Linked DNA regions of Homo sapiens: all the other regions are linked to region 2. The links are contacts of gene promoters, found by promoter capture Hi-C in human tissues and cell types (Jung and others, 2019). All regions are on one chromosome and are shown on one strand. Each heading gives the region's core, a stretch centred on a gene start or on the middle of the fragment in contact. The rest is flanking DNA. Distances are from core to core; before and after follow the strand shown.

Region 1 (3,599 bases), core at 929-3,428, 730 kb after region 2:
ATTACCTGCATATAAATCCTGCCTCTTCTAGGAACTTTGACCTTTGGAAAAAGTTACATAGTGTTTCTAAGACTTAGTTTTCTTATCTACATAAGAGCAATAATAATGCCTTTTTTCTAGAGTTGTTGAGAAGTTAAGTGAGGTCATATAGTATGATGCCTAGAATAGTACAGAGTAAAAGAAACACTTGGGGTATGTTCTTTTTCCTCCCCTCACCCTGCAGTAATAGACCCTTCTGGTGTATCTTAGTTAAATCCTGTGGCTAATCGGATAGCGACAGCCATCTTCTGCTGTTATCATTTTGGAGCACAAGATTTTAAAAAGAAACAATAAAAACAATCCAAGTCCCTTCTGTGAATTGTATGATGTTCCCAAAAGGATTTTACTATAAATCCTACTAGAGCTGTTGTCAATATTTAATACAAAGAACTGGCAACTATGTATATAGGAAAAAGAAACTAATGTAGAATTGCCTAATAAACGCTTTGAGATCAGTTCCCAGAGAAACTTTGCTAGCTGATCTGGGACCTTAGATCCTGGGACATCTCAGAGGATTGAAAGCTGAGGTCCAAGGCAACCAGACTACCACTGAATTAATAGTATCCTTACAACAGATGAAATCCTCAGGGGCTCTCAGAGGAGAAAATACGGCTTTTATACAGCCATATCATGACTATACAGGCTTTGCCTTCTCAACATCGCATTTTAACTAGGAGTTTTGCAGCAACCGACTGATGCACTGGGACAAGAGGAGCAGGTACTTCCAACTTCAAATCCTGTATAATCCGTTCCCTGATGATTGAATAGCATGGCTGCTGAGAGATCATCTTATTTCACTTAATGGCAGAGAGTAAAATTGTAAACAGGACCAGGAGTTATCAAAAAAAGCTTTCTTAGATTTCATTTCAGTTGGAACTCAGCCCCCTCCCCAGCAATGGCTGGCACCAACCTTGTTACTAAAGTACTGAAGTATTGATCTCAGTGCTTAAGGCTCCCTAGGTCAATGAGATGGAAATTCACTAAGAATTTAATGCTATTGGCAAAGCCCAAGCTGGTCTTTCAAAGCAGCTGGCTGCACTTGTTTTCCATTTCAGGCAGGTCTGATTAGCAGGACTCTCTCCAGGCATGGTTTGTCTTTGTGGCCTTCAGCCTCCACTTCTTGCACATTGTTTCTCCTTCTGTTCTCCACTTTCTCTCCTTCTCTCTAAAGCATCTTTCAGTAGATCAAAGAAGACCAATTCAGTGCCTCTGAAATCACACCAGGTAAGCCAGTGCCTGACATGTACATCTCTGTGGTGTAAGGAGAGCTTCCAGAGGCAACACAACATTCTTACCCTTTTTAGTCCATTTTCCTGGGCTTTCAGCACTCAATTGCCAAAAAGTAGTTGATCTTCTCCAGAAATAGGCTACCCAAGGAGGTTGCTTCTGCCTGAGCTGAAAAGAGTCAGTAATCTGAGAATGGTGCTGGAAGCAGGAAATAGCAGAGCCAGAGGTTAATGCTACAGCTGAGATTGAGTTTTCATTATTTTGAATACCAGACTGCTTATTGTCTCAGAATCTGGGCAAGGACTTGACCTACCAGAGAGAATGACCTAACGTTACATAGATGTATCGTTGTCTCATTGTCATAGAAATAAATGAGTAACAAGGTGAGTAGAGTGAGAGAGAGAGAGAGAGAGAGAGAGTATGTGTGTGTGTGTGTGTGTGTGTGTGTGTGTGTATGTGTGTGTGTATCAAACTGTAAGCAGAGTATCACTGAAGAATCTTTTAGATTTGCAGTTTAGGTAAAATATGCCCCTTGAAGCAATCACAAACCTTAGACCATACCACCTCATTCTGCTCTCTGTTTCCCACTGTTCATCACTGTCAGCCTTCTGACATACCCTGAACTTAATCTGTCCTATGTTTTATTCTCTTGGGCACGGAGATATCAGATTAACTCACTAATTTAATAAGCGAATTCCTGCTATTATGCTAATAGTAAAGAGATGGAAAACCTATTTGAGGCAACTTGTGCATTTAAAATAAGACATTTGAGAGAAGTAGTCATCGGCCTTTGTTAGGCAACCTTTTAGTGACTCTCATAGTAGAAATTTAAGGCTGATAGAGTAGACAGTCGGAGCTACCAGCCTTGTGGTGCAGTCCAGTTACTGCTTAATATTTCTATATCGCTTTAGGCTCGCCCTGAATAAATCTCCACTCTGTTCTGTTTCTATTCCTCATTTTCTCAATTTTCATGATATCTAACTTTCCCTTCCATAGGAACGGCTCTCAGATTAATATTTGTGTGTGTGTGTGTGTGTGTGTGTGTGTGTAAGATTTTGCCAGAGATTAAAAGACTACTGCGTTATTATGTGTGTATTTTTGTGGGGTTTGTTTTTATTTTTTTAATACAGTATCTCACTCTGTCACTCAGGCTGGAGTGCAGTGGCACAGTCACGGCTCACTGAAGTCTCAACCTCCTGGGCTCTGGCAATCCTCCTACCTTAGCTTCCTGTGTAACTGTGACCACAGGCACATGCCACCATGCCTAATTTTTTTTGTTTGTAGAGAAAGAGTCTTACTGTGTTCCTGGTCTCAAACTCAGGTTCAAGCCATCCACCCACCTTGTCCTCCCAAAGTGCTGGGATTACAGGGATGAGCTACTGCACCAGCATTTTTTTTTTTTTTTCGAGACAGAGTGTCCTGTCACCCAGGCTAGAGTGCAGTGATGCGATTTCACATCACTGCAACCTCTGCCTCCTGAGTTCAAGCAATTCTCCTGCCTCAGCCTCCCAAGTAGCTGGGATATTACAGGTACCTGCTACCTTGCCCGGCTAACTTTTTTGTATTTTTAGTAGAGACGGAGTTTCACCAATTTGGCCAGGCTGGTCTCGTACTCCTGACCTCAGGTGGTCTGCCCACCTCAGCCTCCCAAAGTGCTAGGATTACAGGCATAAGCCACCGTGCCCAGCCTAGCCAGCCTTATTTTTAAATGTTTGAATAAGATACAAGAAGCTTGTTGTGAACTTCATGTAATGAGTGTTGAGTTGATACAACCTAATGAGATTGTGATGTGGGAGCCTAAGGTTGTGATGTGGGAGCCTAATTTGGTTTGACCTGATTTCCTCAAATTAAAGACAGCAAATCCTGTGATGAATGGAAAGGGAAAAGGCGACACAAATCCTACCTATACCATGGGATAGTTGAGTACTTACTTGATTCTTTATGACCAGAATTGATTGCTTATAATAAGTGGTTTGTCGAGGTTTTTCCTAATTTATTTGACCATATTAGTAAGTGAATTACACGTTGGAGACCTGATGCTCCAAAATCCATTGCCACAAAGCAGGGTGTCAGAGAACAAGCAGTTTGTCTAAGGAAAAAGAGAGGGTGTCCTCCCCAAAGTGAAAAATAACTGTGCCAGAGGTCTGTATAACAGGGCTTCTTATAGAATAGATGGGGTTGAAATGACTACAAAATAAATGGTGAGTTGAAGTTTGTGTTGATTTTGTTTTTTAAATCTAAATATGAGCCTCCAGGCAAGATGACAATTAACCTTACCCTCACTGAAGCACAAACTTGAGGTCACTGCTCCTGATAGCCATTGCAGGCTCCCA
Region 2 (3,706 bases), core at 494-2,993:
TAGCCGGCAAATCCTTAAATCCTTCAGAGATTACAGGATTGTGCAAGAGGGAAGGCCAAGAGGGGGACCTCTGAGGCAGCTCCAGCATGGCCTGTTGTGTGCAGAGGACTGAGATCCCAGAACATGCCACACCAAGAAGACATGTCCCAAGGGGCAGTGGAGCCACAGCCACCAGAAGGGACCTGGCCCTGTCGGACCTGCTGAAGCTAGCCGTGGAGTGCAGGGGCTTTGTTGGTCTGGCTGCTAACCAAAGGGTGGCTAATGGGACCCTTTCCAGGGGCCTCTAGGGGATTTCAGTGGGGGCTTGCTTCGAGGCTCTATTACCACTGGACTGTTTACCAAGAGCCTCAGCCTGACAGAGATGGGAAGAGACGAGTGAGCATTTCTGACCCAACACCCCCACTGCAGAGTTGGGGAAACATTTACCCAAGATAGGAGGAATAAAAAGGAAAAAAATTGAATTTATTTCCAAAAAACATACCAAGGTGGACAAGATAGGAAACAATACAATTTATATTACAGTTTTATTATTATTTAAAAATTTTATATTAACAAAATGAGATGGGATCTGCCTATGTTGCCCAGGCTGGTCTTCAACTCCTGGGCTCAATCTCCTCGGCCTCCGAAAGTGTGATTACAGGCGTGAGCCACCGCACCCGGCCCATATTACAGTTTCATAGTGTTTTTGATTACTCGTGGTAGGAGAAATGTGTCTTCTTTGCACTTGGGGTCTCAACGTCTCAGTCCTGCCCTATGCCCCGAGACCCCAAGAGGCTTTCCCAAGGTCAGGCAGGGAATCCGCAGAGAGGCAGGGCTGGACTCCAGCATCCTGACTCCCCAGTTCGTGCTCTGTGCTGCAGAGACCTGTTGCGTAACACTGAGTAACTGTGGATTGTCTAACCTTTTATGAAATTTCCAGCTGGTCTTTTGCTACCGGCCAGCAGTCCAGTTGGTGGGAGTGATGATGCCGGTCTTCTGAGACGTCCAGTGGACAGATTTTCCCCAGGTTTCTGGATGCAGCCCCAACAAGCAAAAGTGCTACACTCCTGCACCGGGAACACTGACACAGGGGTCACGAAAATGCTAAAACAAGACGTGCAAGAATTGTTGCGCTCCGCACACGTAACAAGGGCTCTGCCTCCCCCTCCCCCAATCTTCGCCCTGGTGGCCAGGCCCTGGGCTCCGCCCCTTCCCCACCAGACCGGGGGAGGGGTCCTCCTCGGCATGGAGGTAGGGGATGCTAGGCTGCTGGAGACGCCCGCAGAAAGAGGCGGGATGGCGGGGCGGATGCTGGCGGCCCGGGTCTGGCCACCTGGGTCAGCTGCACGCCCCCGCCCCGGGCTGGCCGGACCTCGTAGCCCAGGTCCCACCACGCCGTGAAGTTTGCGGAAAGTTTTGCAGTTGCTTCCCCGCCCGCGCCAGCGGGGGAGTTGTGACGCAGCGTCTGGGGATCCTGGCCGGGACAGAAGAGAGGGAAGGCGAGGCGGGGAGAGACTGGGAAACAGAGCAGCAAGAGAAAGGGCGCACGCTGGGGTCCTCCTGGACCCGGCGTGTCCTCCTCTCCGCCACCCCTTTCTCTCCCTCCCGACGCTCTAGCCCCAGACCCGCGCCTCCTCCCCTTCCCCTCCCACGCTGCCCACTTCCCTTCCCCTCTACCCCTCGAACCCTCCTCCCCGGTTCTGCGCTCCTCCCTCCGCCCTCCCTCCGCCCGGGCTGCCTCCTCCCTCCTCCTCCCCGGGAGGCATCACTTCGTCCCGACCCGGAGGAGGACGCGAGCCCCTTGCGGGCGGTCATCACAGCCCAGCCTCGGGGCTGCCACAGCGCGTTGCGCCTGTGCGCCCTCGGTCCCCGCGTCCACTGAGCGCCGCGCTCGGGGATGGGGCCCGGCCGGCCGGCCCCCGCGCCCTGGCCTCGTCACCTGCTGCGCTGCGTCCTGCTCCTCGGGTGCCTGCACCTCGGCCGTCCCGGCGCCCCTGGGGACGCCGCCCTCCCGGGTAAGGCGCTGCCAACTTGGCCAACTTCAGGGCCCGGGCGGGGGGAGCGCCGAGGCGCGGGCCGCTCTCGACTTTTCCCTCCTTTTCCCCCCTCTTTTCTCCAGAAGCGTGTGTGCGTGTGTGTGTGACTGGGTTTTTAAAACTCGTCTCCGCTTTTCTGAAAGCGGGGGAGGAGAGGGGAGGAGGAGCGCGCCTAGAGGTGGGGGAGGACCTGAGTGGAACCAGATGTGGCGGGCGGCGGGGGAGGGGAGCCCGGGGGACTCCAGCAGCCTAGGAGGAAGCGGGTGGGCTCTTGAGGACCCCCGCGCACCGCGCTCCCGGACCACCCGGCGCCGGCCCGTCCTCGGCAGGGGACCTGCAGGGCGCGCCCGGGGAGCCAGGGCTCTCTGTCCGGGAGTTCCCGGGCCCAGTCTCCTCGCTCTGCCCCAGGACTGATGCGTTAGGACGGCTTTCCAACTATCCGCGAGGGTTCGTTTCCCCCACCTTCCCCCCGCCCCCTGCATCTCGTGGGCGTTGATATTTTCTTTTCCACACTTAGTCTTCAAGGAGGCTTGTGGCGCGCGGCATCCGCCCCGCGTGAGCTCGGCAGCCCTGTGAGGAGGCTCCTGCCACTGGGACGCAGCAACAGGCTGGGCGCCGCCGTGCTGTGATGTTGCGTAGCGTGGGCAGCTCTGGGCACACTAGTGGCCCTCCAGAGGGGACAGACCTTGAGCGGCAAAAGAGCTGCTAAAGATTTTAAAACCCAACGAACAGGAAACAAAACAAAAATCAGAAAACCCCAAAACTGTGCCATTCTCTTCCTGCTCCTTATTCAGGGGTAACAGTGAAGTGTGGGGACAGACAGATCCCTCGCCAAGAATCTAAGAGTTGAAAGGAAAGATCCACTTCCTGGGGGAGTGGGGGTGGGGGTGTCTGGAGTGACCGGGGGAATCGCCCGGCCCAGCTTGGTCCTGCTGGCTGTTTAATTGGGGGATGGGGACAGTCCGTGCAGTGTCTGCAGTTTTGTGCAAGGACCAGACAGCCCCCTGGAGAGTCTGGGGCCTCCAGCCTGGCCCGTGCTTGCTGGGTTGGCCTGGCGTGACGTAGGCACAAGACACATATCTGCCAGATGGGAAAGGTGGGGGCCACGGTGACCCACATTCACACCAACCGGAGACCCCCGGGGCAATTCTGGGCCCACCTGGCATTGAATGTGGGACAGACACAAACCAGGCCGGGTAACCCCCTAACCCACTGCAGGGCGGCCTCACAGGCAGTTCCCCTACCTCCTCGCACTCCTGCCTTCCTCTGCTCCTCTGCGCAGGGCCTCAGGAGGCAGGCGGTGGGAAGGGGTGGGGAGGATGGCCATTCCCAGAGCTCCAGAGCACACTTTAAAGCCAGGCCCTGGGAGAGAGTTGTGGCCAGAGTGCTGACTCGGCCTTTCCCCCTGGAGCTTTTCATAGAGGGGGCTGGAAGTGCCTGGTGAGAGGCCCGGTCAGGGAGGACAAGGACGCCTGGAGTGTCCCTCCTCCTCCTGGTCTCTGTGCCTGGCCCTCCCTGGGGCTGTGTCCAGGGATGAATAGCCTCAGAGGGTCCCCTTCCCGTTGGCACTGCATTGACCACACCCTGAGGAGGCTTGGATCTGGGTGGCAGGCAGTGTGAGGTCTTCCAGCAGCAGCTGAGCAGGAGGAGGATGGAGCTGCTGCAGGTTCCTTCCCTCGGAACCGTGCCCT
Region 3 (4,013 bases), core at 562-3,061, 970 kb after region 2:
ATGTTGACAGTCTATGTAACAGCTGGAAAGTTTATAGGCACCCACCTTTGGGACAACCCAGTGATTATGAACATGTGATATCTACTATTTAAAAGAAATGTTCTCACCTTGGGTTGATTGTGGTATACCATGTGTTATGAAAATTGTTGAGCTGAAGCTTTGAATCGATTTAGTTGAGTCTGACTCACTTGCTTTGGTTCCTGTGTATTTTACTACCCCTCTTGTCAGTGACCTTCCTTCCCCACCCCACCCAGAGTGAATTTGTAGCATGATTGTATAAACCTCTATGTAGAAAATGGAGATTTCTTGCTCTGAAATGTTAAGCTCTAACTGATCCATTTCTGTGTCCTTTAGCCTAGTATGTCTGAACTTCCATTCTTGTTATATATTTAAACTTTCCCTCTATATTATAGGTTTTGTGGCATCCACGGTCAGGTGTAGAGGAAGCTGCCCCTTGCAGAACTGTACTGTAATATTTTTCTTTTATAAATATTTTCACAGGACTGATTGTACACAGGGCTTGTAATAAAATTTTAACACTGTGCTGTGAAACAACTATGGGGAATCTCCATTGAAGGCTACTTCATGGGCACCTGAAAGTGGAGTGTTATAGCTATGACTTTCTATTTCTTGTTTCCTAAGTAAATTAAACCTAATTTTCACCCTTTCATTCTGTTTCAGCCTCCTGTATAAGAAGTACCGTATTTTCTGCCCATCATACTTTGTAATAAAACTTGAACATGTATAGATTGACTGAATTTCTTTTTGTGACGAATTCAGTTCTTCCCATTTTGTCACTTTGGTCATGTTCCATAGACAGTGGCAGTGCCCCAGCCCGAGCCGGGCAGTCTACTCATCACCTTTTATATCCTATTTAGTCATTCACTTGTTAATTCAGTGGAGCACCTCCTCTATGCCAGGGGACATGGCCCTCAAGTTGGTTGCAGTCTACCAGAGGAGACATCTACATAAATACTTGTGGCCGGGCACAGTGGTCTGTGATCCCAGCTGAGGCATGGGGGTGGCTGAGGTGGGAGGATCACTTGAGGCCAGGAGTTCAAGACCAGCCTTGGCAACATAGCAAGACCCTGTCTCAATCAATCAGTCATTTTTATTAAAAAAAAAAAAAATTTCTTTTAGCCAGACTAAGATCTAAGACAAATCTTTTTTTTTGCATTTCTTTTTTCTTTTTTTGAGACGGGGTCTCGCTCTGTCACCCAGGCTGGAGTGCAATGGCGCGATCTCGGCTCACTGCAACCTCCACCTCCCGGTTCAAGCTATTCTCCTGCCTCAGCCTCCTGAGTAGCTGAGATTACAGGCATGTGCCACAACACCCGACTGATTTTTGTATTGTTAGTAAAGACGGGGTTTCACCGTGTTGGTCAGGTTGGTCTCGAACTCCTGACCTTGTGATACGCCTGCCTCAGCTTCCCAAAGTGTTGGGATTACAGGTGTGAGCCACCGCACCTGGCATTTATTTTATTTTAATAGTTTTGGGGGAACAAGTGGTTTTTGGTTATGTGGATAATAAGTTTTTTTAATGATGATTTCTGAGATTTTGGTGCACCCATCACCGGAGCAGTGTACACTGTACCCAATTGGTAGTCTTTTATCCCTACCCCCTCCCACCCAAATTTTTAAAAGACAAAAAACAAAAAAACCAAATAACTTGCATTGTTGTGCGATAATGGATGTGTTTAGGCATCACCCCTCAGGAGGAGGTGATCACCTCTGCCTGTGTGGGAGCCACATGGGGTCAGCGAAAACTACTTAAGATGGATGCCTAAGCTGGGTTTTGAAGGCTGAGTAGGAGTTATCTGGAAATAGGGAATGTCCTTTAAGGCAGAGAGAACACCCATGTGCAAATCTATGGAGGCAAGAAAGTATGGTCATATTTAGAGAATTGCAGGTTGAGGTGGGGTGAATAGTGGGAAATGTAGCTAGAGATGTATACAGGAGCCAGGGCAGGGAAAGTCTCCCGCTTTGCAGAAATTTTAGACATTACACTTCTGTATGATCCTGGAAAACATACACAGAGAGGAGTCATCAGAATTGCATTTTAGAAGGATAGGCAATGAAAAAGTGCCTCTTCCTTCTTATAGGGTGAGAGAAAAACCCTGAACTAAGGCGGCGGCGGCAGCAGCAGCCACGGCAAGGATGGAGAGGACAGGGCACAAGTAAAGAGGGATGCAGTCATCAGCATTTAGTAATTTATTGATTGTGAAGGAGGACAGAGAAATAACTCCCAGATCTTTTGGATTTGGACAGGTTCTGATGGCTGACTAGGAATGTCCAAGTCCCTGCTAATTTCCCAAACCTATGCCCCACACGGTAGGGTGGGGGAGTTCCTATCCCACTGCTCTTCAAATGCTGTGTGTCCTGGATGAAATACTACCCCCATTTATTTATATTTTTATTCTTCATGTTGGGCCACTGTGAAGGAAGAGAAGAAAGGCAAACTGATTGGTTCCGTGAACCTGTATTCGGTAAGTACCTGCCATTGTGTCAGCTGATATGGAGCCGGTGGCAGTGGATCTGTGAAGGGAAGTATGTGCTCTTGAGAATTTAATTTTTTTTTTTTTTCAGACAGAATTTCGCTCTTGTTGCCCAGGCTGGAGTGCAATGGCGCGATCTCGGCTCATCGCAACCTCCGTCTCCCGGGTTCAAGCGATTCTCTTGTCTCAGCCTCCTGAGTAGCTGGGACTACAGGCATGTGCCACCACGCCTGGCTAATTTTATATTTTTAGTAGAGATGGGGTTTCATCATGTTGGTCAGGCTGGTCTCAAACTCCCGACCTCAGATGATCCACCCACCTCGGCCTCCCAAAGTGCTGGGATTACAGGCGTGAGCCACCGTGCCTGGCAGAGAATTTAAGTTTTATGAGTACCTGCTGGTCCTTTGGAACTGTGCTGCTATATGGTCTGACAATGTATATTTTGTGAGAAACACATGAGTCCTGCTCTCTGGTTTTTAAGGAGAAAACAGAGAGTAATACTATTTATAGGCTAGCCTATGCTGCGGCAACAAACCCCCAAATCTCAGAAACTGAGCACTACAAAAGCTTATTTTTTGCTTACACAAAGTCCTCTGGGCCGGGTGCAGTGGCTCAACTCTCTAATCCCAGCACTTTGGAAGGCTGAGGGGGGAGGGAGGGGCAGATAGCTTGAGGTCAGGAGTTCGAGACCAGCCTGGCCAACATGGTGAAACCCTATCTCTACTAAAAATACAAAAATTAGCTAGGCATGGTGGCACACGCCTGTTGTCCCAGCTACTTGGGAAGCTGAGGCAGGAGAATAGCTTGAACCCGGGAGGTGGAGGTTGCAGTGAGCCAAGATCGCACCACTGCACTTCAGCCTGGGCAACAGAGCAAGACTCCATCTCAAAAAATAAAAATAAACGTGTGACCTCCAGGTTGCTTATGGGGGGTGGGAGGGAGTACATTTTTCAGGATGGGCCGGGAAGTGGCTTACTCACTTTTGCTCCTATCTGCCAACTGCAAGGAAGGTCAAGTCAAGAAATGTAGTCTTCCTGTGTACCCTGGAAAAGGAAGTGAAGTAGTGAATAATTATGTCTCAGCCATACTAGCAAATCGGCTAAGTATCTGGACTAATAACTAATGTAATCTCATTCATTGAGAGCTGTTAGTACTGGACAACACATGGTCAAACCTAATGGAATGATATTTGTAGCCAGTCTTTAGCTTCCAAGGCTCATTGTTACTTAAGTGATTTCAGTGAGCCTGACAGCCAGGCGTCTAGAGATGGTTCAGTCAACTATGAATTTATCTTGAAAGGTGGCTATTAACTCAGACTGAGAGTTAAAATCTGCCCTGCCATTCATCACAGATGCACAGACAGATAAAACCAGCTGCACAGTTAACAGGATATAGTACCTCTATCAAGAACACACTGCAATTTTTTTTTCTTTTTTTGGCAACATAAAGTGTCAAAACTCCCTGAGTGACTACTGTTTTAAAAAAATTCACTGAGAAATTTCGTTCTCCAAAATCATA
Region 4 (3,783 bases), core at 551-3,050, 910 kb after region 2:
CCAAACTACTTAGAGTTCTCTAAATCTGTGCCCTTGCATGTGCTGCCATTCTGCCTGGAGCGCCCTACCCTGTGCCAGTCCGGCAGATCCCAGTTGTCCTCCAAGGCTGGGCTTAGGCACAGGTTTCTGTATGAGACCTTCCCTCACTCCCAGCCTACCTTAGACGTGCCATCCATGGCCAGGCACGGTGGCTCATGCCTGTAATCCCAGCACTTTGGGAGGCCGAGGTGGGTGATCACAAGGTCAGGAGTTCAAGACCAACCTGGCCAAGATGATGAAACCCCATCCCTACTAGAAATACAAAAAATTAGCCCGGCATGGTGGCGGGTGCCTGTAATCCCAGCTACTTGGGAGGCTGAGGCAGAGAATTGCTTGAACCCAGGAGGTGGAAATTGCAGTAAACCAAGATCACGCCACTGTACTCCAGCCTGGGTGGCAGAGCGAGACTCTGTCTTTAAAAAAAAAAAGTGCCATCACATGGGAGGGATGATTATTATTATTAATAATTAAGAAGTTAATCCAATTTAAGTTTCAGTTAGAGACATGAAACCTCTCATTTTGTCCTGAGTAGAAAAAGACACTAGATCAGAATCTTTCATCTACTGGAAAACCATCACATTATAATGTTGCCCAGATTTCAAGCTTCAGGGTTTCATGTGTGACCCTGGCAAGCCGCTTCCCTCTCCAGGCCTCAGCCCCCTCCTTTGTGAATACCCTTTGATCCTGTTCTCTTGTGGGGACATGTCTCAGCCTCCACCCATCCTTCTGTGCTAAACTGTTACTGCCACTTGCACTAACAAGTGGACTTTCTGGGGGAGTGGGAATCAAAGCAGTCATGCTCCGTGGCACCCCGGCCCTGGGCTCTCCACCCCTGAGCCCTGACAGTGCAGTGCTGATCACATGCTGTTTCTTCTGTCCTGACTGCCTTTCTCATGGGGGCTGGTCCTTGTTTCTCTCGACACAGCCCCCACTTCACTTCCTCTGTAAGCCCCCTCCTCTCTGCCCCAGCCACCCCTGGCAGGAGGAGCCCCTCCCTCCTCCATGGCCCCATAACTCTTGGTTCTTCCTGTTTCTAGGGCTCTACAGATCATGCTGTAAACTTGTTGGCTGCTTACGTACCTATCTTGCAGGGATTTGGGAGGGTCCTTGTGGGTGGCACAACATCTTATATTTATATCCTTTGGCCAGCACAGCACCTGGCACCAGGAGGGCCCAGTACCCTTGCCACATACCACATACCTGAACATCACCCATGTCTACCCTGGGATATTCCCCCTTGCCTTGCATGGACCTAGTCAGGTGCCTCTTGCTTTTTTTTTTTTTTTTTTTTGAGATGGAGTCTCGCTCTGTCACCCAGGCTGGAGTACAGTGGTGTGATCTCAGCTCCCTGCAAACTCTGCCTCCCGGGTTCAAGTGATTCTTCTGCCTCAGCCTCCCGAGTAGCTGGGATTACAGGCCACCATGCCCTGCTAATTTTTGTTTTTGCTGTTGTTGTTTTTAGTAGAGATGCGGTTTCACCGTGTTGGCCAGACTGGTCTCGAACCGACCTCAAATAATCCACTACCCTCAGCCTCCCAAAGTGCTGGGATTACAGGCGTGAGCCGCTGAGCCCTGCTGCCTGTTGCTTTTTGAGTCACTTTCTCAAGCATCACCTCATCTGCTTCCCTGAACAGTCCAGTGGGGTTGGCAAGGCAGATCAGGTTTTATCCATTTTAGAGATGAAGACTCTGGGGTCTAGACAGGGGGAGTAACTTCCCCAAGCTTCCTTCACCAGGGCCATGCTGGTTACCTGGCCCCACAATTGGGAGTGGGAAGACAGAGAAGCCTCTGGCCCTGCCCTGGCGGAGTTAGGTGCTCTGGCCCTGGGTTCCCTGCACCCTGCTCCACAGCACTGGCAGGCCAAGCAGCAGGAAGACGTTGAGACAGATGTTGAGCCTTTAGGGCCCCTTCCTGCCCACTGTGCCAAAGAGTATGGGCTACAGGAGGGAGATTCTGATGGAGGGTGGTTCTGAAGGGCCTGGAGACAGTGAGAGGAGCCACACGCCGGATCTCTGTGCCGCTCAAAGGACACAGGAAGAGAACAGCCCCACCCCTACCCTGCCACCCACAGCCAGCACATCCAGCCATGTCCCCAGAGCTCTATCCCAGGCAGCAGGCCCCGGCCTAGAAGGATGTCCGAGGTTGGGGGAGGTCACGGTCAAAGGACCCTCATAAGGGAGCATGGAGTCAGACCCTGAAGAGACTCCCACCCCTCTGGCTGGCAGGAAAGAATGACATCTTTGGGGAACCCGTCAGCCTCCATGCCCAGCCAGGCAAGTCCAGTGCAGACGTGCGGGCTCTGACCTACTGCGACCTGCACAAGATCCAGCGGGCAGATCTGCTGGAGGTGCTGGACATGTACCCGGCCTTTGCGGAGAGCTTCTGGAGTAAGCTGGAGGTCACCTTCAACCTGCGGGACGTGAGTCAGGGCCAGGTGGGCCAGGGTGGGTGGAAATGCCCAGGCAGCCTGCCTGGCCTGAGGGCACCCATCTGACCAACACCCTTCCTTTCAACCCCATCCTGCAACCTTTGCCATAATTTCTTTTGTGCCTACCATGGCTGGCGTCATGCTAAGTATGAGGATAGCTACTATTTATTAAGCAGTAGGGTGCTAAGGGTGGGGCTTCTTTTACATGATCTTCTTGCAAATGGTATTATTATCCCCAATTTTCAGATGAGGAAACTGAGGATTAGAGACAATAAATAAATTGGCCAAAGCCATTCAGCTAGTCAACGGCAGAGCCAAAATGTGAATTTAATTTGTCTGACTCCAAAGCCCAGGCATTCCTACTACATCATACCAAGCTGAAAAAGGGGGTGCCTTCTGTCCAGAGGGCTCACAGTGCCAGACACAGGGGCTGCCAAGAGGTGACAAAGCTGTCTCTTCTCATGCTCATCCCTCAGTAGAGGAGATTTTGACAACTCAAGAAAAATAAAGAGCCACAAAGTAAAACAGCCAAAGTCACGAAGGTATAAAGGAGAAGCCATGTGGAGCTCAAGCTTGCTAAGGAGTGGGACAGCCAGGACCGACCTGGGAATGCCCAGAGCGGGGTATCACGGAGGAGGAAACTAATGGGAAGAAGGGAGTGTGCATCTGGCAGGGAAACACAGAGCCCGGGCTATTTCTTCCCTGGTGCCCCGCCCCTCCACCTTGGGGGAGGGCCCTGCTGGCGTAGGCCCTGTGCCCAGCTTCCTGAGCATAGAGCTGGGTGGGCTTTCTGGCTGTGGACAGCCCTCCCCACACCATCCCCTCTCCCCCTCCTCAGTTTCTCCCCTCCCTCCCGCGATCTGCACAGGAGACTGACAGGTTAGGACTCTGCCCTCGGCCCCCAGCCATCAGGTGGCCAGAATGCCCAGCAGCTGGGCACCAGGACAGGAGGGGTGTGGTCTCTGCAGCCTGGGCCACCTGCAGGAAGTCGTCCAGGGCATCGCTGCTGTGCCCAGCTGCTTGTCATTCTTTCACCTAGTTGTGACAGCACCATGGGGTCAGGGCAGGGAAGAACAAAGAGGCCCCATCCCAGCTTTGGTTCCTGTTATTTCACCCTCTTGCTTCCCATAAGGCAGCCGGGGGTCTCCACTCATCCCCCCGACAGGCTCCTGGCAGCCAAGACCACCAAGGTTTCTTTCTCAGTGACAACCAGTCAGGTGAGCAAAGCCAGCCCCCACCCCCACCAGCCTGTAGCCCCTGCCCAGCCTCCTACCCCTCCCATGTCCTCTCCATCCTGCCTCCCCAGCGCCACCCCA

The links. Contacts are between HindIII fragments. The study calls those that stand out against the background at their distance.
Region 1: a contact is called between a fragment that was not itself captured here and the fragment with the promoter of MRC2 in region 2, in 1 of the 25 tissues and cell types used here (dorsolateral prefrontal cortex).
Region 3: a contact is called between a fragment that was not itself captured here and the fragment with the promoter of MRC2 in region 2, in 1 of the 25 tissues and cell types used here (dorsolateral prefrontal cortex).
Region 4: a contact is called between a fragment that was not itself captured here and the fragment with the promoter of MRC2 in region 2, in 1 of the 25 tissues and cell types used here (dorsolateral prefrontal cortex).

What each region holds. Positions count from the first base shown.
Region 1 is chr17:63,356,693-63,360,291 of GRCh38, forward strand. The region is part of intron 14 of TANC2 (tetratricopeptide repeat, ankyrin repeat and coiled-coil containing 2); the gene reads left to right. Among named protein-coding and RNA genes, the nearest start is that of CYB561, 88 kb to the right of the region's middle. The HindIII fragment of the contact is 3,521 bases long and covers 419-3,599 here.
Region 2 is chr17:62,625,927-62,629,632 of GRCh38, forward strand. It overlaps MRC2 (mannose receptor C-type 2), which reads left to right and starts at 1,744. Exons shown (of 30, transcript NM_006039.5): 1 at 1,744-1,994. The coding sequence starts at 1,877. It overlaps LOC107985020 (a long non-coding RNA gene), which reads right to left and starts at 2,124. Exons shown (of 2, transcript XR_001752961.3): 1 at 1,919-2,124; 2 at 511-1,083. RefSeq lists an enhancer at 1-470 and silencers at 1,664-2,103, 2,304-2,373. The HindIII fragment of the contact is 9,538 bases long and covers 1-3,706 here.
Region 3 is chr17:63,593,522-63,597,534 of GRCh38, forward strand. It overlaps DCAF7 (DDB1 and CUL4 associated factor 7), which reads left to right. Exons shown (of 7, transcript NM_005828.5): 7 at 1-745. Among named protein-coding and RNA genes, the nearest start is that of TACO1, 5.4 kb to the right of the region's middle. The HindIII fragment of the contact is 6,157 bases long and covers 1-4,013 here.
Region 4 is chr17:63,539,977-63,543,759 of GRCh38, forward strand. KCNH6 (potassium voltage-gated channel subfamily H member 6) reads left to right here. Exons shown (of 13, transcript NM_001278919.2): 9 at 2,265-2,458; 10 at 3,600-3,684. Among named protein-coding and RNA genes, the nearest start is that of DCAF7, 8.6 kb to the right of the region's middle. The HindIII fragment of the contact is 1,199 bases long and covers 1,202-2,400 here.